Linked DNA regions of Homo sapiens: regions 2 and 3 are each linked to region 1. The links are contacts of gene promoters, found by promoter capture Hi-C in blood cells and fetal thymus (Javierre and others, 2016). All regions are on one chromosome and are shown on one strand. The core of a region is centred on a gene start or on the middle of the fragment in contact, and the rest is flanking DNA. Distances in the headings are between cores, read along the strand shown.

What was found. Contacts are between HindIII fragments. The CHiCAGO score rates a contact against its expected background, and 5 or more counts as called.
Region 2: a fragment that was not itself captured here is called in contact with the fragment with the promoter of C3orf20 in region 1 in 1 of 17 cell types (neutrophils); the score reaches 5.4 in neutrophils.
Region 3: a fragment that was not itself captured here is called in contact with the fragment with the promoter of C3orf20 in region 1 in 7 of 17 cell types (fetal thymus, naive CD8 T cells, megakaryocytes and 4 more); the score reaches 7.2 in fetal thymus.

Annotation. Positions count from the first base shown.
Region 1 is chr3:14,673,771-14,676,488 of GRCh38, reverse strand. It overlaps C3orf20 (chromosome 3 open reading frame 20), which reads right to left and starts at 1,348. Exons shown (of 17, transcript NM_032137.5): 1 at 1,237-1,348. The HindIII fragment of the contact is 9,428 bases long and covers 1-2,718 here.
Region 2 is chr3:14,207,384-14,210,101 of GRCh38, reverse strand. No RefSeq gene overlaps it. Among named protein-coding and RNA genes, the nearest start is that of LSM3, 30 kb to the right of the region's middle. RefSeq lists enhancers at 1-7, 8-508. The HindIII fragment of the contact is 1,831 bases long and covers 486-2,316 here.
Region 3 is chr3:14,938,698-14,941,415 of GRCh38, reverse strand. No RefSeq gene overlaps it. Among named protein-coding and RNA genes, the nearest start is that of NR2C2, 7.5 kb to the left of the region's middle. The HindIII fragment of the contact is 5,767 bases long and covers 1-2,718 here.

The DNA of each region.
Region 1 (2,718 bases), core at 99-2,598:
ATAACTAGGAAGCTCGGTTTTAGAAATGTTAAAGAAAGAAGAACCAAATGGTGTGTATACACTGATTACACATTCCATGGAAACCTGTGCAGATCATAAGTTGGACACAGAGATACAAAGCCTTTTCTTTTTAAGGAAAAGGTGATTATTTTTGGAAAAGCAATAAAACCTGGGTTCCCAGCAAAGACAGTGGCACAGTTACCAGACTCACTTGCAACCTGGGAGACCTGGGCTGGGAGCAAGGTCCACTCTTGTATTTTTTGATTTTCAAAAACCGTGAACAACTATGGCTGTGCATGGAGAGGCTGGTGTGGGGTGGGGTGCGGGGAGGTGCTCTGTTCAACCGCAGGGAATAATGACCAAAAAAAAAAAGGCGGGGGGGAGGGGGAAGGAATGCAGTACACCCCACAGAAAATGCTTAAAACCTGGCCAAACTGTTACTAAGCATGTGAGCTTTCAGACTTAGGGAGAATGTGGCAATTAGAAATGTAGTGGAGGGCCGGGTGCAGTGGCTCACACCCGTCATCCCAGCACTTTGGGAGGATGAGGCAGATAGATCATCTGAGGTCAGGAGCTCGAGACCAGCCTGGCCAACATGGGTGAAACCCCATTTCTACTAAAAATACAAAAATTAGCTGGACGTGGTGGTGCATGCCTGTAATCCCAGCTACTCGGGAGGCTGAGGCAGGAGAATCACTTGAACCCGGGGAGTGGAGGTTGCAGTGAGCCACTGCACTCCAGCCTAGGCAGCAGAGCGGGACTCCATCTCCAAAAATAAATAAATAAATAAATAAATAACAAAAACAAAAGAAATACAGTGGAGAAAGAAGCTGTTTCAATTGAGGGTGGAACAGATGCAATATTTCTGGCCACTCCTACCACTGGACAAACACACACTTACTATGAGTGACTATATAGATGCAGCCTGGGATTTACTAAGAAACACCATAACAGAACATCGATAGGCCAGGTGACAGCTTTTCACTACAACACCTTACTTCCTTTGAACATTTGGATTTTCTAGTTTTCCTAGACAATGACCTACACCCATCATATCATTCCTGGCCTCTCGCCCCCAGTACACACACTTTAAACATGAAGATAATGTCCACAGCCCACCGGGGCAAAACACCTCACTCAGCCAGCTAACAGGGGCAGGCAGGATGACTGCAGTAGTTTCATCTACTCTCATTTTTTCAGTGGGTCAATGAATTCCTTTCAGTGATCATCACTCACCTTAGCCATGTAGTTTTTTATAGGAACTGCTTGCCGAATAACCGACTTAGTTCAATTTACTGACTTAAAAGGACACAGTATGGCATGGGCTACTCCAGGTTGTGTTAACTGTAAAGACCAGTACCCATCCCCGTTCCAAATTCTAAACTCTACTACCTCATCTGCATGTCACAACAAGGTCAGCTGAAAACCTCCCTGTGGGCTGCACTTGAGCTTTCACAGGGAATAAACGACATCACAAGTCTGGCAAATGTATGGCTAAACGCAGCAGGAATCTCATGTATATGGATCTGAATGTTCTTTGGGAATTCTGCAGCAAATAAAATGATTTATTGAGCCAATTCAAACGAACTCTATCAAAACACACAAAGGCCTAGAGGAGAGATTACAATGAACGTAAATAATTCAAGGCAATTTTTGATCTAAAGCATTTTGCTTAGCTCTACAAAGGCATGAATGAGGTGTGGTCACGTTTTTGTATAGGAGGTTTTGCCACTACTTGCTCCCAAGTTAAACATGGCCACAGAGTATTGTGAATGTTTAATGTATGCCTGGGAAAAATTTATTGGCCAATACTTTAGTTACTAATGGGAGGATTATGTATAGTCGGACCATAAAGCGTGTAAAAGCAGATCACTTAGAGCCGCTCTGTCCAGGACAGCAGCACTAGATGCATGGGCCCTTTGAGCACCTGAAATAAGGTTAGCATGACTAAGGAACTGGGTTTTATTTTTTCAAACTTGATGTTCAATTCAGTTACTGAAAAACTTTACTATGTTTAACTATCTTTGGAACAACTTGGATATGAATTTGTGTTTTTCAACTGCATATTTTACAAAATCTAAATACAGATCAAGTATTCCTGATGAAACGTTAGCATCCAAATTATGCTATAACCAGATACACAGTGAGTTTTGAATTCTTAGTGTGAAGAATAATTTTAGATCTCACTAATAATTTGCATATATTGAGTACATATTGAAATATTTTGGATATGCTGAGTTAAATAAAATATGTTATAATTTCACTTTTTAAATATGGTTGCTAGAAAATTGAAAATGACACTCTGGGCTTATTTTTTTTTTTTTAATTTTGAGACGGAGTTTCACTCGTTGCCCAGGCTGAAGTGCAATGGCGCAATCTCAGCTCACGGCAACCTCCACCTCCCAGGCTCCAGCGATTCTCCTGCCTCAGCCTCCCAAGTAGCTGGGATTACAGGCATGCGCCACAGATTTATTTTTTATTTCTGTTGGAGTGTGCTGTTTTAAGAGTATGGAGCTGACATTTAAGAATTCTAATGCCATCTGCTGGATACACTGGTACAAGACAGGCCCGTGTCACAGTAAGACTGTGATGGTGTGTCAATACTCAAAGAACTGGATCTGAAACAGAAAAGGGCTCACAAAACACTGAACTAAATTATACTGTTAAGAGGGGATTATAAATAGGTTTATTTAGTTTTTGAAATCCCAGAGAAAATGT
Region 2 (2,718 bases), core at 152-2,651, 470 kb after region 1:
CTGCCATGTCCTTGCTGCATAACTTCAGCAAGTTGGGCAAGCTTTCGGAGTCTCGGTTTTCTCAGCCAGTCCTGCTCACCAGCAGGCTCCGTGGTGGTGGGGCTGTGCCTCTGGTGCTCAGCACTGTCTTCTTAAGCGCCTAGCAGGTAACAGGCATTCGGCACGTTTCTGCTACATGAAGGAACAGAATAAGAGTACTCCTACCGCTGTTGCTGGATCATGGTGAGGATTAAATGAGAAACTGTAAATAAAAGCCTAGAGTGTTTTAGATGTGCATGACACAGTAGCTCTTCCATTGCCAGATGCCTTCCTTCAGTGTCAGCACGGGGAAAGAATCCAGATGTTGCACCAAATCCAGATGAAGCCCCTTGTTCTGCAGATGAGCAAACGGAGCCTCAGATCTGTAGATCTGTTCATTTGTGCATTCATTCATTTCACATAGAGGGGACTATCAAGACAGAAAGAGTCTCCATGCTTATGAAGCTTACCTTCTAGTGGGAGGAGACAGTAAATGAGTAGACAAATATATAAACAAGAATAGTGTCACATACTAACAAAGTGCTATGGTGAGCAAGAACACAGGGGAGTGTAATGGAGGAGGGCTGGGAATGGGGGGGTACACTGGTTGGGGGACTAGGTGTGGCCTCCCTGTAGAGGAGGCATAGGATGTAAAAGTGGACCTGAATGACCAGAGGGAGAGAGTCATACCAAACTCAGGAGCAAGAGTGTTCTAGAACACTGCCTTTTGGGTGTTTGCTCTCATTGGTCTCTTTTGCAGGAAGAGGGGACATGACTTTTATTTTGACATAATTTCAGACGTAGAGAAAAATTCCAAGCATAGTACAAGGAAATCTCGTCTTCTCAATCCACTAATTGTTTACGTTTTGCCTCATTCTCTGTCCTCTCTCTCTAAGTATACAATATACACATCACACACACACACACTTTTTGCAGAACTATTTGAGAGTGCACAGTGCGAACATACTGCCCTTTCACCCTATACTTCAGTGTGTACTTCCTAAGAATAAGAACATTCGCTTATATAACCACAGTCCATATCTAATCTACAATGCATAGTTAAATGGTATCAGTTGCTCCAACAATAACCTTTTTAAATTGCACATATTTTTCCAGGCCAAGGGTCACATATTACACTGAGTCCTCATGTTTCGTTAGTTTTCTTTAGTCTGGAACAGTTCCTTAGCCATGCTTTGTCTTTCTTGACCCTGACATTTTTTTAAAGAGTGCAGGCCAGTTATTCTGTGGGACGTCCTGTCATTTGGGTTTGCTGATATTTCCTGAGGATTACTTTCAGGTGACACCGTTGTGGCAGGAACACCACAGAAGTGATGTTGTGTCCCCCTCAGTGCATCACAGCAGGAGGCACGTGGCGCTGTTTGTCCCTACGTTGGGGACATTAACGTTGGTTGATTGGTTTAGGTGGTCTCCTCCGGGTTTCTCCACTAAAAAATTGCCTTTCCCCCCTTTTTAATGAATGAGTAATTTGTGGGGAGGCACTTTTAGAATGTAAGTGCTCTGATCCTCACTAGTTTTAGCATACTTCATCTTCTACAACTTATTAGTTGCCACTGTACTGTAAGGAAGAGATTTTCCTTCGCCCCATTTACTTTATTTATTTTTATTTTTATTTTTTTGACACAGTATCTTGCTCTGTCATCCAAGTTGGAGGGCAGTGGTGCAATCACAGTACCCTGCAGCCTTGACCTCCTGGACTCAAGGGATCCTCCCACCTCAGCCTCCTGAGTAGCTGGGACTACAAGCACACGACCAAGCCCAGCTAATTTTTTGATTTTTTTGTAGAGACACTATCACACTATGTTGCCCAGGCTGGTCTCAAACTCCTGGGCTCAAGTGATCCTCCAGCTTCAGTCTCCCAAAGTACTGGGATTTCAGGCGTGAGCCGCCATGCCTGGCCCTACCCATTTATTTATATAATCATATATTTATTTATATAACTATGAACTCATGGCTTTTTATTTTATTCACTAGGTTATAATCTACTGCTATCAGACCATCTCAGATTTGATCAATGAGAGCCCTTCAGACTGAGTTCTGTGTCTTTTTACACAGCCCCACCATTCTTCAGGTATTTCCTTGCCTTCCGGCACAATAAGATGTTTTGGGCTCATCTGGTATGTTCCCTGCCCCAGCCCTGGAATCAGCCCTTTCTCCAATAAGCCTGGTTCTTTTGGTGTTAAAAGATATTTAGAATCCAAGATCTGGGGGCTGGGTGGGCTCCTGCCACCAGGTGTGTTACCACTTCCAGGACCTCTCTGGGGACAGAGCTAGAAAGCTTCTTGAACTCTGATGTGCATATGCATGACTAGGAATATTGGTGAAGTGCAGATCCTCATTCATTGGGTCAGATCTGCCCACAGGGGTGCATTGGAGACTCTGCCTGTCTCACAAGCTTCCAGGGCGTGCAGATGATACCGGTCCACAAGGCTCATCTTGAGCACCAAGGATGTAGGACAGTGGTTCTCAAAAGTTGGTGTGCATGGGAGTCACCTGGAGGGCTTGGTAAGATACATATTCCTGGGCTCTACTTCCAAAGTTTCCAATTCAATAACCTTGGGCTAGGACCTGAGAATCTGCATTTCTAACAAGTTCCCAGGTGATGCTGTTCTTGCTGATCTGAGACCGCACCTTGGGAACCACAAGATCTAGGACACTGGTTCCTAAAAGTGACTACACATT
Region 3 (2,718 bases), core at 114-2,613, 260 kb before region 1:
TTTGTGAGCCTCCAGGGGCAGAAGCCCTTTTGTGTCTTCACTGGCATCCCCGTCTGAAGCACTTTGGTGATTATTTTCTTGTGTCTGCATGTTATATCTTCCAAAAATGGGTTGACATTTTCTATACCTTGTGTCTCCTCTAGAACTATCCTTTGGGTTATATCTTTTTATTCACTTGCTGGCTTTAGTGAATTTGAAGAGGGAGCTAAGAAATGCATGTTTTCTAGTCATCTATTGCATAATTAATCACACCCAAACTCAATGGCCTAAAGACTAACAGTCACTTTTTTTTTTTTTAATGAAAATCTTTTAATTCTAGGGGAGTCAAGTTGTTCTCTCTTGGCATCCCTCATGGTCACATGGCTGGAGTCATCTGAAAGGTTCCCTTATATGTCTGTGATTAATACTTGCTGTCAGTGTGAACACCTACATGTGGCCACAAAGTAAGATTCAGGGTCACATTGAGTAGTACTGTAGCTGCATTTTTAAAAGAGCTAATTTTATGCCTATAATAACTTTCATAATTATATGTGTTAGAATAATCAAGTCTCATGCTTTAGGGCATAGCCAATTACTGTAGCCTTCAAGAAGTAAGTTATTTTCTCATGTATGCTGCTCACAACAGGATAGCTCCATTACACATTCATGAATTCTAGTGTGGCATCATTAAGGGCTGGTAAGTACAGGCCACTGGATTTGAAGGACCACAGACTTACTGGAGATGACAATTCTTGAACATCCTGGTCTCCTGCTTGTATCTGTTACTTAGTTCTAAGGAGCATAGGGCTTATTGACTACACTTTATCACAAGATAGATTTTTGGATACAGCTGTTGATGAACATACCGAAGATGAGATTTGAATATTGATGAGAACTTGAGGTCATTTAGGGCAGTTTACATTTGAGTGGGTAATCTTTATATATAAACAAGGGTAGTCATCACTGTTGAAAATGCTTTAGGGCCACTTGGCATGAAACGTTTTAAAGTTCTACAATAGAACTTTAAAGAACTCTCAGTTCCTGAAGGATTTTTATAATGTATAATTTACAAATACAGATAAATGGGGTTTTCTCTTAATTGCTACAGTATCCATTTCCGAATCAGAAGAATTTGTGTAAACTTTACCATGAATTTTATATCTTTTTCCAAAACCTTGTTAGTTTTGAAGCCAGCCAAAAAACAAAACTGGAAACGTCATTACATTTCCATCCATTTTGCAACCCATTCCCAGAGTTTGAAAAACATGGCTCCAAGCTAAAACAAAAAACAAAAACAAAAAAAAAAAACTTGTTTTCAGCTTGCTTCATACAGATTTTATTTTGTGCAAGCCTCTCTTTTGCTCTTGTGGAAGTGCTGCCTCTCTACACTGGCTCTATCACAACAGCAGCATGAAAGACCATCAAAATTAGAGAATGAGGCATGTCATTCTGCTGTCAACACAGAATGCCCCTTCCGGTATGACAGCTTCAAATGATCTGGACAAGGAAGATCCCAAGTTCATGTAGAGAATTTGTTCTGCAGAATCTCATGTGATCACTAGGATATTATGAGGGTGGTCATAGGGTCATCAAACTTCTCCAGAGGAAAGTTTTGTGGAAGGAGATGTTTAACCGGCTGGGTGCCATGTTGGTGTAGTGCTGTTTCTACCTCAGTTAGTTATACTGGTTTTCCTCCTCAAATATTACTGTGGGCGTGTATTTCTCCTGTAATGTTTGGCATACTGTCATAGTCTAAAAGGCTTCTTATAATCTTGTCTGATGATACCAGTGCCAGTTCTCATGCCTTATAACATTTTCAGATACTCTTGGGTCTCACTTTCTTAAGCTAAGGATCTGAATATTCACTGCAGATACACCTGTAAACTGCCACTTCTACCACAGACTCAGTCTGGTGACAAACCGAGATCACTGCCAATGACTGAACTAAGTTTTTATTCGTTATTCATGGTGGCTGAGCTACCACCTCCTCTATCTTCCCTCCTACCTCCCTCCATCCTGCCTGTGCACAGAATCTCCTGAGGTGCTTGTAGAAACTGAAGATGCCTGGATCCCACCCGAGACTACCTACCCAGAGGGAACCCCAGGAGGTGAGGTGTGGGCCACAGGAGGAGCCTTGAGGAAGTCCCCTCTAGCTCTCGTAGAGGAACAGCCAGAGAGCCAGAGGGGACTTCCTCAAGGCTTCTCCTGTGGCAGGGAGGAGCAGCTTTGGTAGAGTGGGGCACTACCAAGGATAGGGCAGCCTTGGTAGAGTGGCCTCATTCTGGTTGTAGCATGTTGCAAATTTGTGGTCTCTTGCCCCACACTGCTTTGACTTCACATGACCCACAGGCTCTGGAGTGTGCATTGCTTGCATTGCCTTATGTTTCTGAAAATAGTCCCCCCTCCCCGGGAGGCGCATCCCCCAGGACACAGAGGTGTTCTGTGAACATGCACATCCTCTTCTTGGAACTGTTGCAACAACGGTATGATGGCTGCCTTCCCAATACAAAACTTGTCAATTCACATAGCATACATGTTAACCATAATCTTCAGACTTGTCATATACAATACAGATTCTTAAGGGTTTGAGAATGTAGGTTGAGCATCCCCAATCCAAAAATTTAATCTGAAATCCTCCAAAATCTGAAACTTTTTGTGCACCTACATGACGCTCAAAGGAAATGCTTATTGGAGCATTTCAGATTTTCAGATTAGGGATGCTCAACTGGTTAAGTATCT